Regions from separate parts of the Homo sapiens genome. Here region 2 is linked to region 1. Evidence: promoter capture Hi-C in 16 types of primary human blood cells and fetal thymus (Javierre and others, 2016). All regions are on one chromosome and are shown on one strand. The core of a region is centred on a gene start or on the middle of the fragment in contact, and the rest is flanking DNA. Distances in the headings are between cores, read along the strand shown. Region 1 holds the start of LIN9 (lin-9 DREAM MuvB core complex component). Region 2 holds the start of SRP9 (signal recognition particle 9).

Region 1 (5,614 bases), core at 1,397-3,896:
TAGCCAGGAGTGGTGGCAGGCACCTGTAATCCCAGCTACTCTGGAGGCAGAGGCAGGAGAATCGCTTGAACCCAGGAGGCAGAGGTTGCAGTGAGCCGAGATCACACCATTGTACTCCAGCGTGGGTGACAAGAGCAAAACTCCATCTCAAAAAAAAAAAAAAAAATTCTTGTTGTCTATAAATTACCCAGTCTCAGATGTTTTGTTATAGCAGCACAAATGGACAAAGACATACGTGTAATCCTCCCATCACAGAGGGAGTCACTGAGGCACCGAAAAGTGGGCTAGATTCCTGATTCTAGCACTTGCTTGCCATTGTCTTTGGACAAATTACCAGGTTGTTGGGAGAATCAAGTAAGCCAATCATTGTAAAACCTGTCATAAATATTCAATAACGAAACTTATTGAAGAGTTAGGTGTGCCTTGGCTTCGATCACACAGCTAAGCGCTAGATCTGGGGCTAGGATACAGCTTCAGGCTTTGGATTTATGAGAAGAGTCAAAGTTTTTGTTTAAAATGCAGATTATCAGGCAAGGGCCTAAAAACATTGATTTAAACAGTAGTTGTGTTGTTGCGTGTACATGAAAACTGCCTCAGAATAAAACCAGGTTTGCCTTGGTCTAATGACACCTTGACTATCATGACATTCACAAAGCTTTTGCTTCTCCCACTCTGGTAACCTCTCATGTTTTTTTAATTTCTATTCTTCCATTCTTAAAGGGCTGACCTTTTCTTGATCTCATCTCCAAATTGATACTGAAGTGCAAGCTGCTGAAGCACCCCCTAGGTGCTGACAACAAGGACCAGTGTTTTAATCTTCTTAGGGAGCAGATCAGAGTGTGTTTAGAAGGCAAAGGAGAGGTTAAGCTAGCTCTGAAGGAAGGATTACTTTGTAAAATTGAACTTTCACCCTCCCTGCTCACTCCCTGCTCTCCCTCCTACCTTAGCATGGCAGCACCCAGTTACCCAAGGCACAGAGCTGGCATCAGCAATGAGACTTCCTTCTCCTCACACCCAGTGACTCACCCAATCCTTTATTTTCCACGTCTTGAAAGGTGGAGTGCATGCTGCCACCTCTCTCTAATACTGCCTATGCTGTGGTAATGGTGGTAATAGTGGCTAGCTGATGGGTGCTAGCAGCTAGTATAAGGTCCTTACATCTATCAAATCGTTTAGCCCTCAAAATAACCCTGTTATTTGCATTTTACAGATAAGAAACTGAGGCACAGAGAATTCGGTTAAGAAACCAACGTGCCTGAGATTATACAACTAGCAGCCCATCTGGATTCTTCCCATCGAGGCCCTGGGGCTCCAGAGCCCACCCGCTGCACCTCTCTAGCTACCAGTGCAGGCATCTCTCTTCTGTCCTTTGCATGCCCCAAATAAGCTTCTTCCTGACTGGTTTCTAGGCTCTCATCTTGTCCCCCACCAATCCATTTCCCATATTTTTGTTCTAAAACACAAATAGAAACGTGCCCCTCTTACACCCGACTTTTCCACTGCTCCAGTGGACTAAGCAAGTTCAACTCCTTAGCCTGGGCGGGCCTCTGTGTACCACTCTGTCACCTTAGTCTACCGCCTTTTAACTTTGTAGTTCCTGGAATTCACCCACGTTGTCTTTTGACTGCTTAACGGTCTCATTCCTCCAACCCCCATAAATTCCTGGAGAAAAGGATTGGAGCTCAATGACATTCGTTAAATGAATTTTTGAAAAGCAACAGTGTTTTATTACTGGAAAGTGTTACAGACAGATATTGTGAAATTTTTCCTTGGGCTTCTTTCAATTTCGTTCAATTCTCGTCCAGTATTCTCATAACATTTGGATCAGGTACTTTATCACCTTGTAGTGTCACTGTTCCTTTCTGTATCCTCTCGAAGCCTCCTGTTACTCGTTTTCTAATTCTCTTCCAGCCCACTGCACGATCTAGTGTCGAATGGATGAAACAGCTGAGCAGAACAGTTCTTTAGCTGTCGGCCTAAATGACCAACTTCATGACCTCTCAAGGTCTCGCTCCCCGGCTGCACGCAGCTCAGCTTCCAACATTCGGGAAAGGCGTGCCCGGATCGCGAGGGGCCGCTGGGACCGAGTCCCGGACGTCGCGACGCGCAGGGGGCTGCTGCGGCCGGCGGTCTCGGGAAAAGTGAGGGGACGGAGGCGCCCAAGCAACGTGGGTTTCGGGAACTGTGAGTATTTCACTTTGCGTAGAGCCCCCTCGGGCAATGCGACCCAGAACCGAGGGCTTCTTTCCCCCCGCCGGGGCCTCCCTCCCGTTCTCCACTCGGAACAAACAGCCTGCAGTTCCCGCAGCTGCAGCGCGGGCCGCGGAACATGCGCCGGGAGCGGGGCCCGGGCGGGACTCCGGAGCTGGTACTGCTCCCCCCGCGCTCCGGCGCCGGGCCTCGCCGTGCGGCCTCCTTCCTCCCTTCCTCCCGCCCGGCTCGGCCGGAGGCGGCGGCGGAGGGGCGAGGCGCGGCCCCCCTTCGGCGGCACCTCCTCCCCGGGCAGGCGCGGGCGGAGCCGGGCCCGCCTCAGCCAGCCGCGGCGGGAGCAGCGCAGCGCGGCGCCGCGGGCAGCGAGCTCCGCATTCGAACCTCCCTCGCAAAGACAGTCTCCGCCCCACAATGCACCGCGGCGGGCAGCCTTTGAAAAAGCGGCGCGGCTCGTTCAAGATGGCGGAGCTCGACCAGTTGCCTGACGAGAGTGAGTAGCACCTCAAAGCACCCCCCCCTTTTCCCGCCTGCTGCTTGCCCAGCGGTTGCACCGGCCGGGACGGACGGCCGTGCCCTCCGCTGGGCAGGTGGGCTGACTGCCAGCCCCACTGTGGTCCCCTAGTCCTCCCACTCCGGTGTTGCCGCCGCGTCGCCGCCTTTGTTATGGTGTCTGTGTGTTGGTTTCTGGGGTTGTGTGAGCGCCAGGGCCGGAAACCGAGAGCCCGGGAGTCCAGCCTGTGCCAGGCGGAGGCGGTGGCTGCTCCCCTGGCGCCACTCCGGCCCCCAGCCGAGGTGGAGGGAAGAGCGGCCCCTGGGCGCGGGGGCTGTCCTCGCCGCCTGCACCACTCGCCCGGCGCCGAGAGACGCCCGCCGGGGTTATGTAACTCGCCTGTCCCGGGGCCGGGGGAGGGCTCGGGCTGGGCACGGGGTGGTCCACGGCCCCTTCTTCTTGCCCCAGCCTCTGATCTTGTCCTGTCACAGCTCCTGCCTCTACGGGCACTTGTGATCTTCACTGTCCTCCCCACCCCCCCACCGGTGTGTCCACCCCTGGAAGTGTTTCCGTGTCAGAGGGTTGGCCCCTTCCCCTGGGACCACAGGTGGCTGTGGACCTTTCCTGAGATCATCCAGCCCGGATACTCAGTGTTCAGGTAGACCCCGTCCCGCAGACTTTATTCTATATGTGTCTTAAGAGCCATAAAGGTACCTTTATGCATGGATGTGACCAACACAGCGTACGTGTACCCTGCCTGACACCCACCCTAGGGCATTGCCTCCCCTAACCATGTTTACTCACCCTGACATCTAAGACATGTATGCTCACTTGTGTTGAGTAAGTAAAAGCACCAATTCCATAGTTTAAGGGCAATGGAACTTAATTTTGTAATTTACAATATTGCATAAATTATATGAAAAGACAAATATGTTATTTAATTACAAAAAAAAGTCCTGAATCCACTTTCACTATTCAGTTTATACATATTTGTGAAAGGCTCAATTACTATTGAATCTTATCTATGCACAAGGCAAATGGACTTAAAAATGAGGACTCAACATACTACCGATTCCATTTTCTTTGTGAGGTCATGTGTTCTTAGTAAGTTATAAAGTTAAAAATTCAAGTTGCCAAGCTGGTGAAAAGTCGTATTAAAAGTGTTTGTGTTTTAAATTTGATAGAGAGCAGCACTAAGTCCCCAAGGAACTTTGTCCATGATAGAACTGTTCTCTTTTGTGATGTCCAGTAGGGCAGCCAAGCTACTAGCCATATGTAGCCATGGAACATTTCAAATGTGGCTAGAGTGATGGAGGAACTGAATTTTGAATTTTATTTAATTTTAACTTGCATAGTCACATGTAGCTAGTAGTCACTGTATTGGGTAGGGCACAGCTATTGACCAGTCATGAGCTGTACTGTTTATTTGTAGAATACAATTGATTGTGATTTATTTTATTTATTTATTTATTTTGAGATGGAGTTTCACTCATTGCCCAGGCTGGGGTGCAATGGTACTATCTCGGCTCATTGCAACCTCTGCCTCCCAGGTTCAAGCGATTCTCCTACCTCAGCCTCCCGAATAGCTGGGGTTACAGGCATGTGCCACCACGCCTGCCTAATTTTTTTGTATTTTTAGTAGAGATGGGGGTTTCTCCATGTTGGTCAGGCTGGTCTCGAACTCCCGACCTCAGGTGATCCACCCGCCTCGGCCTCCCAAAGTGCTGGGATTACAGGCGTGAGCCACCGCAGCTGGTCTTGATTGTGACTTAGAATGCTCCCAAATGAGTGTGGACCTACTAAGCACAGTGTACTTGTCATCCGAAAATGTTTTTCATCATCCTTGGTATCTTTATCATAAACATGTCTTATCACCTCTTGGATGTCACAATCACTAGAGCTACTGTTTTGGTTACTGTAGTCATTCTGTTGTAATGAGAGGCATTTTAAGTGGCTTTCTTACAACTGCCATTAGGAATATTTGCTTCATATCATCCAGCATTTATTGAGAATTTACTGTGGTTCTTTGTAGGGACTTGGGATTTATATTAGGGTTCAAATTCCAGCTCCACTTTCAAATTATATAACCTAATCATTTATATTACTTTGTGACATCTCTGGTGCATTGGTGTGTATTTGTGAAGCGTATGTCTTGTTTAGGTAGACTTCAGCTTTGTTGAAACCAGGGATTTTCTTTCTTTCTTTGTCATACAGTGCCACAAATCAAGTATACATAAATAATTTTTATGGAATTAGTGCAAAGTAACAGGTATTATTACTGAAACTAGAGCAGGGTCTTGAAAAGGAAAAGCGATTTCAATTTGATACTGGAAATAGCAGTATGTTTTTTGGCCACATTTAGTCAAGGAGGCTAGCTAATATATTGTTCAGGAGTCGATATAACATTATCAATAATGAAAGCTACCATTTATTGAGTATTTACTATGAACCAGATGCCATGCAAAGGATATTACATGTATTTGCTCATTTAATCTTCATTTCAGTTGATGTAAGTGCTCACATTTTATATAAGGAAATTAAGGCTATCTTCAGCCCAGATCTTTCCTGAGCTCCCTTTCTTGATATCTCTTGCCTGTTTCACATTTCTTCTTAGATGCTTCAAAGGCCCCTCAAACTGCACAGGTTTAAAATCCACCTCAGTCCTACCCCAGGACAGATACTTCTAGTGATTCGAATGGTTCCACTGTGCATTCAGCTGGCAGGGCAGAAACCTAGAGATTTTCTTTGGCACTTCCCTCTCTTTCTTTTCTTTTGTTTTTTTTTTGAGACAGAGTCTTGCTGTGTCACCTAGGCTGGAGTGCAGTGTGCGATCTCAGCTCACTGCAGCCTCCGCCTCCCGGGTTCAAGCCATTCTCCTGCCTCGGCCTCCTGAGTAGCTGGGTTTACAGGCGC
Region 2 (5,614 bases), core at 1,902-4,401, 530 kb after region 1:
TATCCAGTTATCAAAGAGCCAGTTTTTAAGCAGGAGATGAAGAATTCAACTTTTGTTTTTTAGACAGTTGTGGCAAGAGTGTTAAGGAACTAAAAAGGCTGACAGACCAACAAAGAGGTTATTACATAATCCAGTGGTAATGCCATCTTCAATTACAGCAATACAAGACAGAGTGGTAAAAAGATACTGGGTATAATCAACAGGTTAAATGTGTTGCGGAGAGAAGACAGAGAATTTTGGAAAACAGATTCCAGAGACCTGACAAAATTTGTTCTTTAGCCCTAGCAGAAAGAGAATGGACTTGGGGTTCAAAGATCTGGGTCCAAATTTCATCTTAATCTCTCAAGAAACTAGGTATATCACTTAACAGATATAAAATCATTCATTTATATACTTTGATGGGTTGCTGTAATTGTTCATATATTATGTATAAATCTATGTAAACACACATAAATATATATTAAATGCCTGTAACATATAAACATATGTAAAATGCCTGTCACGTAGAGGCGGAGGTTGCAGTGAGCCAAGATGGCGCCACTGCCCTCCAGCCTGGGCAACAAGAACAAAACTCCATCTTGGAAAACAAACAAACAAAAAAAACTGTTAAGCTCTTCCTCTACACTCATCCTCTCCCCTCTCAACATATCAGTCAAGCCAGGCGCCATGGCTTGTGTCTGTAATCCCAGCTACTTGGGAAGCTGAGGCAGGAGAATCACCTGAGGCAAGGATTTAAGACCAACCTGGGCAACAAAGCAAGAGCCCCGTCTTTAAAAAAAAAAAAAAAAAAAAAAAAAATTAGGCAGGCATGGTGGCATGTCTGTAGTCTCAGCTACTCAGGAGGCTGAGGTGGGAGGATCACTCGAGCCCAGTTCAATGGTGCAGCGAACTGTGATTTGTGCCACTGCACTCCAGCCTGTGCCAACTGCAATTTTCTGACTGGGTAAGAGGTGAAATATTCTCTTTCTTGTCTATTCTAGACATGCTTTGCTCACAGTGATGCTCTAATTATTTTCATTTTCCCTACCACTGCCATCACATTCTTACAGTACAGTTACTCTTGATGTGAATTTATATATTCTTTACTGTTGTCTCAAGTATTTTTAGTTTATACTGTGGGTACTTCTGGATAAAAGTCCTGTGTGGTCTCAGAGTAGCATTGTCTGAATGAAGAAACAAATGACCCTGCCAACAAGGGAAGCTAACCAAATGAAGCAACCAGAAGTCACCAGTGTTATAAACAAATTACTCAATTTAAAAAATACAATTTCCATCATTTATTATTGTATCATTTTATTGTAAAAAATAGAAGTATGTTTTACAGCTTGTTACTTAGCTAGGTCTTTCTGTGGGTCTAATACTATTTTTAATCATAATTATCAACATTTCTTGCTGCACACTTTAAACTTATATGCACTATAAACTGTATGTGGCATTGGAGTTACAGGTTACCAGCTCACTGCATACACTTAAAACATAATTCATATTACTTAATGATCATCAATAGTTTCACACAGTAAATCCTGAGCCCTGGGCTGGGCGCAGTGGCTCACACCTGTAATCCCAACACTTTGGGAGGCCAACGCGGGTGGATCACGAGGTCAGGAGTTCCAGACCAGCCTGGCCAAGATGGTGAAACCCCGCCTCTATTAAAAATACAAAAAATTAGCCAGGTGTGGTGGCAGGCGCCTGTAAACCTAGCTACTCGGGAAGCTGAGGCAGGAGAACCGTTTGAACCCAGGAAGTGGAGGTTGCAGCGAGCTGAGATTGAGCCATTGCACTCCAGTCCGGGCGACAGTGCGAGATTTCGTCTCAAAAAAAATAAAACTATTGAAAAAAAAAAAAAAAGATCCTGAGCCCCGGTTTTCCGAGATTTTATCTGCTTTTAATTTTCTTTCTTCTCCGAGGGATACAGTCACAATACACTGGATCTATAATACCCTCCAATAATACCAGCTCCTTAAGGGTTGAACGGAATCTCATTCACCTTTGTGTCTCCCACAGAACCTAATTTAACTTGGGGTCAGTAACACGAGAGTGGGAAATGAATGCAGCATAAAAGAGATAACTGAGTTACAACAAACACAAAACAAAAGAAGCATCATACATAACCAGGTCTGAGGTTTTCAGTATAAAATCCCTTCAATATGCTGAGTTCTAAAAAGAAGCAGAACTTTTAATTAACACGAAGATGCTTCAAATAATTCTTAGACATGACAATAAAATAACCAAAACCTCAAGAGACGAAAAGTAAGACCCGAATGCTAAACTCCCATCACTTGGACTCCTTTGCTTTTTAATAATGAGCTAACCTCTGACATCCACCTCCATTATAATTTTTGTGGGGGCTAAGAATGTATTTCAGAGGTCCATGAATCCCTTAAAATTGTTTGCAAACATTTACTTATACATTTACTTATACCATTTTTCTGAGGAAAGGTGCAAATATTATTCTTATGGTCCCAAAGCCTGTGACTCCCAAAATACTAAGAACCAATATTCTGGGGGGTACAGATGCTTCCAAATTGGAATCTTTCAAGAATGTCTGAGCGGTAGTAGAAAAAACATCATCAGTTTTATATACATGAGGTACCCTTACCGCCTAGGCGGTACAGGAAAAGTGAACCAAGACAAAGGACAGGAAGCTGCAGGGGGAGGAGCCCTGGCTTCAGGGACTCGTAAAACAACCGAAGCCATAAAGGAAGCTGAGGGACTGGGGCGGGAAGATCGATTGCAGAAATGTTTAGGGCTGAGATGAACCTGGCTGTTGCCAGCTTCAGGGCCTCACTGGGCCGCTAGATCAGGGAAGAAGGGGACGAGAGAGCAGAACATTAACTTGGCAGGGTCCATTTGTGTTCATTCCCAGCACCTCCTGGGAGCGCTGGGGAAGCTCCAGGGGCCGAGTGGATGGCGGGAAGACATCCTGGGCTGGGGCCCAAAGCAGCGGCCCCGCCAGCGATTTACCTTCATAGGGTCAGCGAGGTAAAGCTTCTCGGCAGCGCGGCTGAACTCCTCCCAGGTCTGGTACTGCGGCATCGTGGCCTAGAGTGGAAAAGTAAAGAGAAGCAAGGCCTCAGAACCCGGCCCAACAAACTACCTACGTCCGGGAGTCGCCAACCGACGCGAGTCCCAGCAGCCCCAAGATGGCGGCGCCTCCTCGCACCAACGCCTCGCTCCATTGGACAGCCCCGTCCATGCTCGCCCAATGGGCAGGAGGGATGTTGTCAGGGAGTGGGCGGAGCCCAGGGCGTGTGGCTCGAGAGCTGAGCGAGACAAGCGGAGGGCACGGCAACCAATGCCGGCTGCCACAGCGCCCCCGGTAGGGCTGAATGAGTGGCGTCCGTCCCGTGGCCCTCAGGGCTGAACCGCAGCTGCCTTCAACAAAGATTAAGCGGCTCTGCGATAGTCGCTGCATATACGAGGAAGGAGGCGACAGGGCCCAGCTGTCACACAGCTTGGTGAAGAAGCCAGGAGACATAAACACAAGAGTGCAACGGAAAACTTTATATGATAAACATTTATGTCGGGTTAGTGGAGCGCGAAGGAAGAAGGATCTCTTGTGGGTGGGGGGAGACTCACAGAAGCGGTGCAAGCTCAACAGGTAGGCAAGGAAGGGCAGAACACGTAGGCCCATTTTAGATCTGCAGTGTATGTCAGATGACTGGTGTTTAGGAGATGAGGAAGAAGCCATATTATCACTTCTGCAAGGATAAAAAATCTGATCCTCCAAGCAGGAGGATCGCTTGAGCCCGGGAGTCCGAGGCTGCAGTGAGCCATGATCGCGCTACGCACCCAGCCTGGGCTTCAGAGGAAGACGCTGGCGCAAAAGTAAATAAATAAAGAAGATGGCCTGCAGGGGACACCAGGTAAAGGGTATTATATTTTGAGATGGAAAGATTTTGTGCATGTTTATAACTTTTAGAGAAGGACACATAAGAGATAGAAAAATAAAAAATACAAGAGAAAGAAGAAAGCGAGGTCTCGGGAAATATGAAGGGGAAGACCAAAGGCCCAGATGAATAAAAACAGGTGCATTATTGCCTTTGATGGGGTGAGGAGGAGGGAAAAGTCGGGTGAGGGTATAGGTGAGCATGTAGATACGAGGGCAAGAAGGTACATTTTCTTGTCACCTAAGACAGGAGACCACCTTCGTAAATAGGAAGGGTGGTTTTGGATCTTTGAGGAAGCAAGGATGGGTTTGGATCCTTGAGGAGAAGGTTTGGAAAAGCCATTGTGAGAAATGAATAAGGAAGCCTATTAGAAAAAAACAGGTGGGAAGCGGTGGTGCACACCTGCAATCCCAGCACTCTGGGAGGCTGAGGTGGGCAGATCACTTGAAGTCAGGAGTTCAAGACCACCCTGGTCAACATCGTGAAACCCCATCTCTACTAAAAATAAAAAAATTAGTTGGGCTTGGTCGTGGGTGCCTGTAATCCCAGCTACTCTACTCGGGAGGCTGAGGTAGGAGAATCTCTTGAACCCAGGAGATGGAGGATGTAGTGAGCCAAGATCGCATATCACTGCACTCCAGCCTGGGCAACAGAGCAAGACTCTGTCTCTAAAACAACAACAACAACAACAACAAAAAAAGAAACTCAAAAGCAATATGTCAAGTAGAGTAAAAAGCTGAAACTGGAGATCATATCTGGGAATAGCCCCAATTAGGGTCTGTCTCCAGCAACACCCAGAAGCTTGGATTTTGGACTGGAAAAGACAGATATTAGGGATTTATAGGGTACATGAGGAAGAAGAACAAAGGGTCAAGAATGTTGTAGGTGGTACTGGCAAGAGAATGATTGAAATGATAAATTATGGGATCCATGCTAGATAGCTGGTAATTAATTGAGTCAAAAGAGAGAAGTTAAGGAACCAGGATTAAAGGAAATCTGAATTCAATATAGCAGGAAATAAGTTTTAGTCAGATTGGATATTGGGGTTTAACATTTTAGAGTAGCAATAGTCCCTGGTGAGGCTGGATTTATAGTTGGGTTGTCCACACAAAGTCAAAGTCTTCTATGAGTAAGAAAAGGAATAAGATGAAGGAGAAGGCTATGAGCCAGGGACCCAAATCCTCATTTAATGAGACACGTGTGTGTGTGTGTGTGTGTGTGTGTGTGTGTTGAGGGAAGCTATAAAGAGCAATGAGCAGAGGCAGAGAGGGCAGAGTTGGGCAGAATGACCCCCAGGTGTAGGGGTTTTTCCCTGAAGATGAAAACAATGGAAGTTAAGACAATGCCAACTTTGCCTTCTGTCACAAGGAACATAAGAGATCAGTTTCAATTCAATTCAGCAAAAAGTAAAACAAGTGTCCACCCTGGACAAACACCAGGAGCTGGGCTAGGCATTAGAGACCCAGCAGTGAACAAGACAGGCCCAGTCCCTGCCTCATAGAGCTCACAGTTATGGAGAGAATGACAGTAAAGAACAGATCTCCATTGTGAGGGTCCCCATCACTGTGAGTTCCAGCATCTCCAAGCTTAGCCCAGCCTCAGCCCCTACAGAGGCAGAGAAATCAAGATAAGGAAGAAGTTATGGGAATTGCCCTTGATTATGCAAATGTCCCCAGTCACACTAGGATGCATTCTTTTTTTAAAAATTTAATTTTAGGTTCGGG

The links. Contacts are between HindIII fragments. The CHiCAGO score rates a contact against its expected background, and 5 or more counts as called.
Region 2: the fragment with the promoter of SRP9 here is called in contact with the fragment with the promoter of LIN9 in region 1 in 2 of 17 cell types (monocytes and activated CD4 T cells); the score reaches 5.5 in monocytes.

Annotation. Positions count from the first base shown.
Region 1 is chr1:226,306,196-226,311,809 of GRCh38, reverse strand. It overlaps LIN9 (lin-9 DREAM MuvB core complex component), which reads left to right and starts at 2,646. Exons shown (of 15, transcript NM_001366245.2): 1 at 2,646-2,701. The coding sequence starts at 2,671. RefSeq lists silencers at 2,294-2,543, 2,964-3,193 and an enhancer at 2,747-3,513. The HindIII fragment of the contact is 5,962 bases long and covers 1,390-5,614 here.
Region 2 is chr1:225,775,363-225,780,976 of GRCh38, reverse strand. It overlaps SRP9 (signal recognition particle 9), which reads right to left and starts at 3,151. Exons shown (of 3, transcript NM_003133.6): 1 at 2,965-3,151. The coding sequence starts at 3,036. RefSeq lists enhancers at 2,812-3,181, 3,432-3,651, 3,398-4,158. The HindIII fragment of the contact is 1,703 bases long and covers 2,991-4,693 here.